Regions from separate parts of the Homo sapiens genome. Here region 1 is linked to region 2. The links are contacts of gene promoters, found by promoter capture Hi-C in blood cells and fetal thymus (Javierre and others, 2016). All regions are on one chromosome and are shown on one strand. The core of a region is centred on a gene start or on the middle of the fragment in contact, and the rest is flanking DNA. Distances in the headings are between cores, read along the strand shown.

What was found. Contacts are between HindIII fragments. The CHiCAGO score rates a contact against its expected background, and 5 or more counts as called.
Region 1: a fragment that was not itself captured here is called in contact with the fragment with the promoter of AARS2 in region 2 in 1 of 17 cell types (total B cells); the score reaches 5.8 in total B cells.

What each region holds. Positions count from the first base shown.
Region 1 is chr6:42,218,668-42,222,329 of GRCh38, reverse strand. No RefSeq gene overlaps it. Among named protein-coding and RNA genes, the nearest start is that of MRPS10, 2.6 kb to the right of the region's middle. The HindIII fragment of the contact is 1,952 bases long and covers 449-2,400 here.
Region 2 is chr6:44,311,486-44,315,232 of GRCh38, reverse strand. It overlaps AARS2 (alanyl-tRNA synthetase 2, mitochondrial), which reads left to right and starts at 1,886. Exons shown (of 22, transcript NM_020745.4): 1 at 1,886-2,152; 2 at 2,970-3,161; 3 at 3,698-3,747. The coding sequence starts at 1,910. It overlaps LOC124901322 (a long non-coding RNA gene), which reads right to left. Exons shown (of 3, transcript XR_007059594.1): 3 at 686-1,082. RefSeq lists an enhancer at 1,582-2,141. The HindIII fragment of the contact is 8,838 bases long and covers 1-3,520 here.

The sequences.
Region 1 (3,662 bases), core at 175-2,674, 2.1 Mb after region 2:
ATTAGCCAGGCATAATGGCGCATGCCTGTAATCCCAGCTACTCGGGAGGCTGAGGCAGGAGAATCCCTTGGACCCAAGAGGCAGAGGTTGCAGTGAACCGAGATCAAGCCATTGCACTCCAGCCTGGGCAACAGGAGTGAAACTGTGTCTCAAAAAAACAATAATAATAAAAATAAATATAAAAAAAGGAGCCAAAGAGCTGATTACTTCCTTTATGTACGAGAGGATCTTTTGGAAAGGACTGTCTTTAAAAACAGAACAACTGGCACAATCAAAATATGATTAACTGTAAAATATTTGATGTATCTATGTTTATTTTTTCTGGACATAAAGCAAGGTTTACTTGCATCAACTATCTAGAATCATTGGACTCCTGCTCCTCTACATGAGGTTGGGTGTCTGGAAGTTTAGGCTGTAGGAAAGAGACCCTTAACGGATAGGCCAAGCTTCAGAACGCTGTCCCTGCCCACACCTCATGCCAAAGAGCACTGTTCACAGCCCTACTCTGGGCAAAACCTGATGTTGCCCCTTACAATGAGTTCTACCTAGGCCCTAGCAAGTCGGCACTTGATCCCAAACCATTAGGCCCCTAGGCCGTGTGGTGACACATTTGGCTCAGCCCAGGAAGATGAGAGAACCAAATCAAATTTCCACATTTGAGAGTATGAATGGAGAAACTTGATGAGCCAAAAGCAGAGAGCAGTGGCCATGCAGAGTCCTGAGGGAGCAGAAACTATTGGTAAGCAGTGAAAGCCCATCATTAAAAAGAACACATTTGGCCTCAGGAGTGAAGAGGGTATCCAGTCCCTAAGACTGTTTAAAGCATACCTTTCCAGTTCCAGGAGCTGTCCAGACCACACAGGTCTTTAAAAATAAGCCCCTATTTCTTTTGGAGTGGTGCTAGGGTGGTGGGTATTTCTAGTCCTATTATCCAAGAGATTTAAATAGAACCGAACCTCATCATAGAATCAGCACCAGCCCACTGCAGAGGTAGAAAAGGCACTGCTTTTAAGATGGTTATTGGTTTAGCTGTAACTAACTTACCATATGACCCTGAGTGAGTCATTTCACCTTGGGTTCCTCATCTATAAAATGAGGATAAAATCCATGTCTTCTGGTGTGGATCAGAGTAGGTAACTTAGGTGAAAGTCGTTTGCAAGCACTATAGTTGCAGAACACTCACCCAGCTGAGGCTACTCAAAGGGGACAGAGGCAGGGTGAAGGGCCTCACGGAAGTGCCATTTGGACAAACCGATGCAAACTTTGGAAGCAGGAACAGAGTTGGGAGTGGGGAGGCTGTTGGAAAACCCCATTGGCTGAGAGAAATCCCCTTAAGTGTCACAATTCAGAGAGAGAGACTGATTCTGAGAAGGGCACTGGGCAACCTGCCAACATGGGGCATCACCGAGTCCAGCAGAAGGGCACACAGGTGAGGCCGGGTGTGGTGGCTCAAGCCTGTAATCCCAGCACTTTGGGAGGCCAAGGTGGGCGGATCAGGAGGTCAAGAGATTGAGACCAGCCTGGTCAACATGGAGAAACTCCGTCTCTACTAAAAATACAAAAATTAGCTGGGCGTGGTGGCGCATGCCTGTAATCCCAGCTACTCAGGAGGCTGAGGTAGGAGAATCACTTGAACCCAGGAGGTGGAGGTTGCAGTGAGCCAGGGTCATGCCATTGCACTCCAGGCTGGGCAACAAGAGTGAAACTCCGTCTCAAAAATAAATAAATAAGAAGTGCACACAGGTGAAGTGTGCTGTTTCCATACCCTGTTGCAAGGCCACACTGGAATCTCTGCCACACCTCAACACGGACTGAATTCTAGTAAACAGAGGCCAGCCTGAGGGGCAGGAAAACTGGTTTCTGCTCCTAGACCTTTTCTATCTCCTAGATAGGTGTGATGTTGGGCAAATCATTCTGCCTCTTCTTTGGTTCTCTTGCCTGCAAAATAGGGTAGTAATAACTATTTGTGGGGAGAAAAAAAAAACAACTTTATATTTGTACAGTTCTTTATTTGGATGCTATAAAATATTCTCATAAACTTGATCTTTTTATTTTTAATCTTCTCAACAACCTTGTGAGGCAGGTGAGGTAGAAACTTAATGGCACAAATAGTGGATGACATCTATAGTGTATCATTACATGGCAGTATTGTACTAAACACCATATATTGGTATTGCATTGAATTCCCAAGCAACTATTGGAAGCAGGAACTACTGTTATCTTTTTTTTTTTTTTTTTTTTGACATATGAGCAAACTGAGGCTGAGGGTAAGGAAGTAACTTGCTCAAAGTCACTCAACTAACTGGTAAGCCTGGGATTAGAAACCAGATCTGATTATAAGGCTAGAGTTTTCCATTAGGCTAAAATGCATATGTGAAAGCACTTTGGGGAAATAAAGCTTAGAAATGTGAACAAATGGGCCAAGTGCAGTGGCTCATACCTGTAAAACCAGCACTTTGGGAGGCCAAGGTGAGAGGATTGCTGGAAGCCAGGAGTTTGAGACCAGCCTGGGCAACATAGCAAGTCTCTGTCTCTACAAAACAATAAAAATAAAATAAAAAATGGTCGCAAACACCTGTAGTTTTAGATACTCCAGAGGCTGTGGTGTGAGGATCACTTAACCCCAGGAGTTTGAGGCTGCAGTGGGCTATGATCAAGCCAGTGCTCTCCAGCCTGGGCAACAGAGCGAGACACTGTCTCACACACACACACAAAAAAGACAATATAGTATTATAGAAGCAGACTTTAAGATGAGGAGAAAGTAAAAGGAAAAATAAAAATAAATTTTTAAAGATTTGCACAAATGGAATAAGTTTTTTTTTTGGAGACGGAGTCTCGCTCTGTTCCCTAGACTGGAGTGCAGTGGTACAATCTCAATCTCGGCTCACTGCACTCTCTGCCTCCCGGGTTCAAGAGATTCTCCTGCCTCAGCCTCCCAAATAGCTGGGATTACAGGTGCACACCACCATGCCTGACTTTGTATTTTTAGTAGAGACAGGGTTTTGCCATGTTGGCCAGGCTGATCTTGAACTTCTGACGTCAGGTGATCCACCCGCCTTGGCCTCCCAAAGTGCTGAGTGCTGGAATTACAGGTGTGAGCCGAGCCACTGCACCTGGCCTTTTCTTTTCTTTTCTTTTTTTTTTTTTTTTTTTAGACAGAGTCTCATTGTGTCTCCCAGGCTGGAGTGCAGTGGCACGATCTTGCCTCACTGCAACCTCCACTTCCCGGGTTCAAGCAATTCTCGTGCCTCAGCCTCCTGAGTAGCTGGGACTACAGGCACACAACGATGACACCCCACTAATTTTTTGTATTTTTAGTAGAGATGGGGTTTCACCATGTTGGCCAGGCTGGTCTCGAACTCCTGACCTCAGGTGATCCGCCCACCTCAGCCTCCCAAAGTGCTGGGATTACAGGCGTGAGCCACCGCACCCAGCCTGAAGAAGTTTTTATTATAGCAAATCCCAGTTATACATCTTTTTACTTGGAAAAAATTATGGTGGACATTAATAATTAGACAAAACACTTTGGCTTGTTGTAAGTGAAGCTAGCCATTGTAAATTCCTAAATACTAGAGTAACATAAGGAAATGAATAATTTAGAAAGATCAGTAGGACAGCGGTATACAAAATGGTTGGAGCACAGGAATTCCAATTGGTGTGGG
Region 2 (3,747 bases), core at 637-3,136:
TTGTGGTGATGGATGGGCAACTCTATGTAAATATACTAAAAGGCATTGAACTGTATACTTTATTTAAATGGGCGAATTGTATAGCATGTAAATTATATTTCAATAAAGCTGTTTTAAAAAAATTATATGGCTCCACACTAGATCCATGTTTGGAGTTTCTAATGTAACACAATGACTTTCTGGGCAAAATCTGAAAAAAAAAAAGTTGATGTCAGTACTGAGTAGAGGCCCTGCCAGGTTTGTATGGCAAAACACTCCCATCTCAGTTTGGGAAATAATTTCACAGTCTTGTCTAAAGATCATCAATCTCAGCTGGGCGCAGTGGTGCATGCCTGTAATCCCAGCACTTCGGAAGGCTGAGGTAGGCAGGTCAGCTGAGGTCGGGAGTTCAAGACCAGCCTGACCAACATGGAGAAACCCCATCTCTACTAAAAATACAAAATTAGCCGGGCGTGGTGATGCATGCCTGTAATCCCAGCTACTCAGGAGGCTAAGGCAGGATAATTGCTTGAACCCGGGAGACAGAGGTTGCAGAGAGCCGAGATTGTGCTATTGCACGCCAGCACAACAAGAGTGAAACCCCATCTCAAAAAAATAAAAAAGTCATTAATCACACAGAAATCCCCAGCTGGCTTTAGCTTTCTGTTCCAGAAACACTGGAAAAACCAAAACAGGCCAAACACACTTTCAAAACAACACCTTTAATCTATGTGGGCAAAGGGAGAAAAAGGGGATCATGGAATAGGAGTTATAGGTGCTGTCAGAACACAAAGTTAAGAATTTACTATCACTATAGAAATTCAAGTCCAATGTAGATTCCGCAGAGAAACTATGTATACAAAGACCCCAAATAACTTAACACACACAGAATCGTGGCTAAAAGAGACCACCCTGATGGCTAAGGCCTTCTCGGTTATTACACTGACCTCAGCTCTGGAACCTCTATTGAGTTTTAGCTTTGGCAGATTCTCTTCTGTCTTCCCAATCTGTTTAATTTCCCAAGCCAAGGGCATCATGAGAAGCCCCATGAGCACCCTGATTGCATCCACAAGGGCCTGTTGGCTTCAGGGTCACAGCTGTTACTATGGAAAGACAGAAGGGAGAGGTAGAACAGGTATATCTCTTATCCTAAACGAAAACACACAAAACCTTAGGGCATTAGAAGGCTTAGAGAGTGAAATCTCTGCAGCTATTAGCCAACAGCTTCCTCCTGCCTTGACGACCTGGATTCTCTCTGATCCCCAGGCAAATGAGAAGACCAAATGTTAGGCAATTAATAATATAGCAGATGCTGTTTGGCTTCTGTGTTCTCCTATAGACTCCTGCTTCACGGGCAAAAATGGCCGTGTCTGATGCCAAGGTCCAAGGAAACTGGCAAATGCCTAGAACAGTGCCTAGCACATACTAGGTCTTCAATAAATATTTGTTGAATACCTCTTGAATGAATGCTGATACTCCCCTGTCACTCTCTGCCTTCTTCCCTCAGCCTGGAAAAACACACACAAAACACACACACACACACACACACACACACACGAAGTTGAATCCACACCTGTTTATTGCAACCCCATCTGTAACTTTGCAAAACTAATAAGCACAACAGCAATTACTGCTAGAATACGGATTTCAGTGGGCAGGGCATTTTGTCAATTTTGTACCCTAAAAGCCCAAAACAATGCCTAGCACATAGTAGGCTCTCAATGAATATTTGCTTAATGCCGAATGAATTAAGAGCCTACTATGTGCCGGGCGCTGTGCTAGACTCTGCCAGCGACCCAATCGATCGCTTCCACCCCGGCGGCAGAGGCCGCCCCCTGAGTCCTCCTACCGCCAGGGGCCGCTGTAGGAAACGCCTGGCTTCCTTCCCTCGTCACTCTTTGACCACGTAAAGTCACTGCCCGGAGCTACGATGGCAGCGTCAGTGGCAGCTGCAGCCCGGAGGCTGCGGCGGGCCATTCGAAGGTCGCCCGCATGGCGGGGCCTCAGCCATCGGCCGCTCTCATCGGAGCCCCCTGCAGCCAAGGCCTCGGCCGTGAGGGCCGCCTTTCTGAACTTCTTTCGGGACCGCCATGGCCACCGGCTGGTGCCCTCCGCTTCCGTGCGGCCCCGCGGCGACCCCAGTTTGCTTTTTGTCAATGCGGGCATGAACCAGGTGAGGGCCGAACCATACTGATAGGGAGCGGAGTTCGTGAGTTTTCTGGTGAGAAAGACGCTGCAGGATTGGGCAAAAGAAGCGAGAGGCGGAGTTCGTAGCTTTTGGGGAAAGAGGGCGGTGCTTGGTTGGGTAAAGTGATGGGGGTACGGCGCTCAGAGTATAGGGAGGGCTTGGGGAGGGCTTGAGCTGGGAACTTCTGGATTGGGATTGAGTATTAGGTCCAGAAATGGCTGGAGTGGAATCCCGAGGGAGAAGTCTGATTTCATTTATTCGTTATTTAAATAAAGATAACGCTTTCATTAAATGTTTATTGATCACCTATTGTTTGCTGAGTACTATTCTCTAAGGTTTTGGTTTTTATCAACCACTCATCTTTTCTAGACTTCATTGTCCTCATCTGTAAAATAGGGGCGGCATAAGTTAACCTTAGAGGCCGTCTGGGCTCCCTACTAAATGAGTCTCAGTTTTGTTCCCTGAAGTTATTGGGTGTGGTTGAAGAAGCTGAGACGGAGGATGCCACCTTTCAGCGTCCCATTTCCAGCTCCCAACACATTCCTCCTTCTTTTACCTTGCCTATTTTACTAGGCAGAGGGTCTCCGGTTCATGATTTGTTTACCTCTTCTCTGCTCCCCACACACCAGAGATGGCTGTCCCGAGGCTCCCAGTTTGTCCTCATAGACCAAGATTACACTGCACTCTCAGGGGCACAGTCAGCCTTCGGTCTGAACAGCCATCCCTATCCTCACTCCCCACATTTCCCTTCTACTGAGAAATTGGATATCCCTCTCCCCCTCCCCACTCTATGTGCTTCCAGTTCAAGCCAATCTTTCTGGGCACCGTGGATCCACGAAGCGAGATGGCAGGCTTCCGACGTGTGGCCAACAGCCAGAAATGTGTGAGAGCTGGAGGACACCATAACGACCTGGAAGATGTGGGTCGAGACCTTTCCCATCATACCTTCTTTGAAATGCTTGGCAATTGGGCCTTTGGGGGTGAATATTTTAAGGTGAGTCTCTGGGGATCAGTGATCAGCCAAGAAGGGAGTCAATTTGTCCTGTTTCCATTGTACTGTCTGCTTAGGCAGGGCCTCATACCAGATGTGGAGGCAAAGTGCTAGTTGAGCCGGTGTAACAGGAATTACCTCACCTCCCTGATTGGATTGTAAGTCCCTGAAGGGCAGAGACTGTACTTTCTGCCTAATGATCACTCAAAAATTGTTGTTTGAATAAATGGTCAAACAGCAATGCTAAGGTGCTTACTGGAGTTAAAGATCACTCTAGGCTAGAGTAGGCAGAGAATTTCATGTGAAAGTGGGACTTGGTCTGGGACTTGAAAGAAGATAGGACTTAGAAGAAGGGGGAAGCTTTCTGGGCAGGAAAACACTCAGAGGCAGTAATGGTTCATGGCTTATTCTGGGAACAAGATGGCAGCAGAAATGCTTTTGTCTTAAGTCGGGAGCTAAACTCATGTGGCTTGATTACTTCAGTGGGGTCTCCCTCTCACCCGTCTTCCCCCCCCACCCCATGCTGGTTTCTGCTGCAGGAGGAGGCTTGTAACATGGCCTGGGAACTGCTGACTCAGGTCTATGGGAT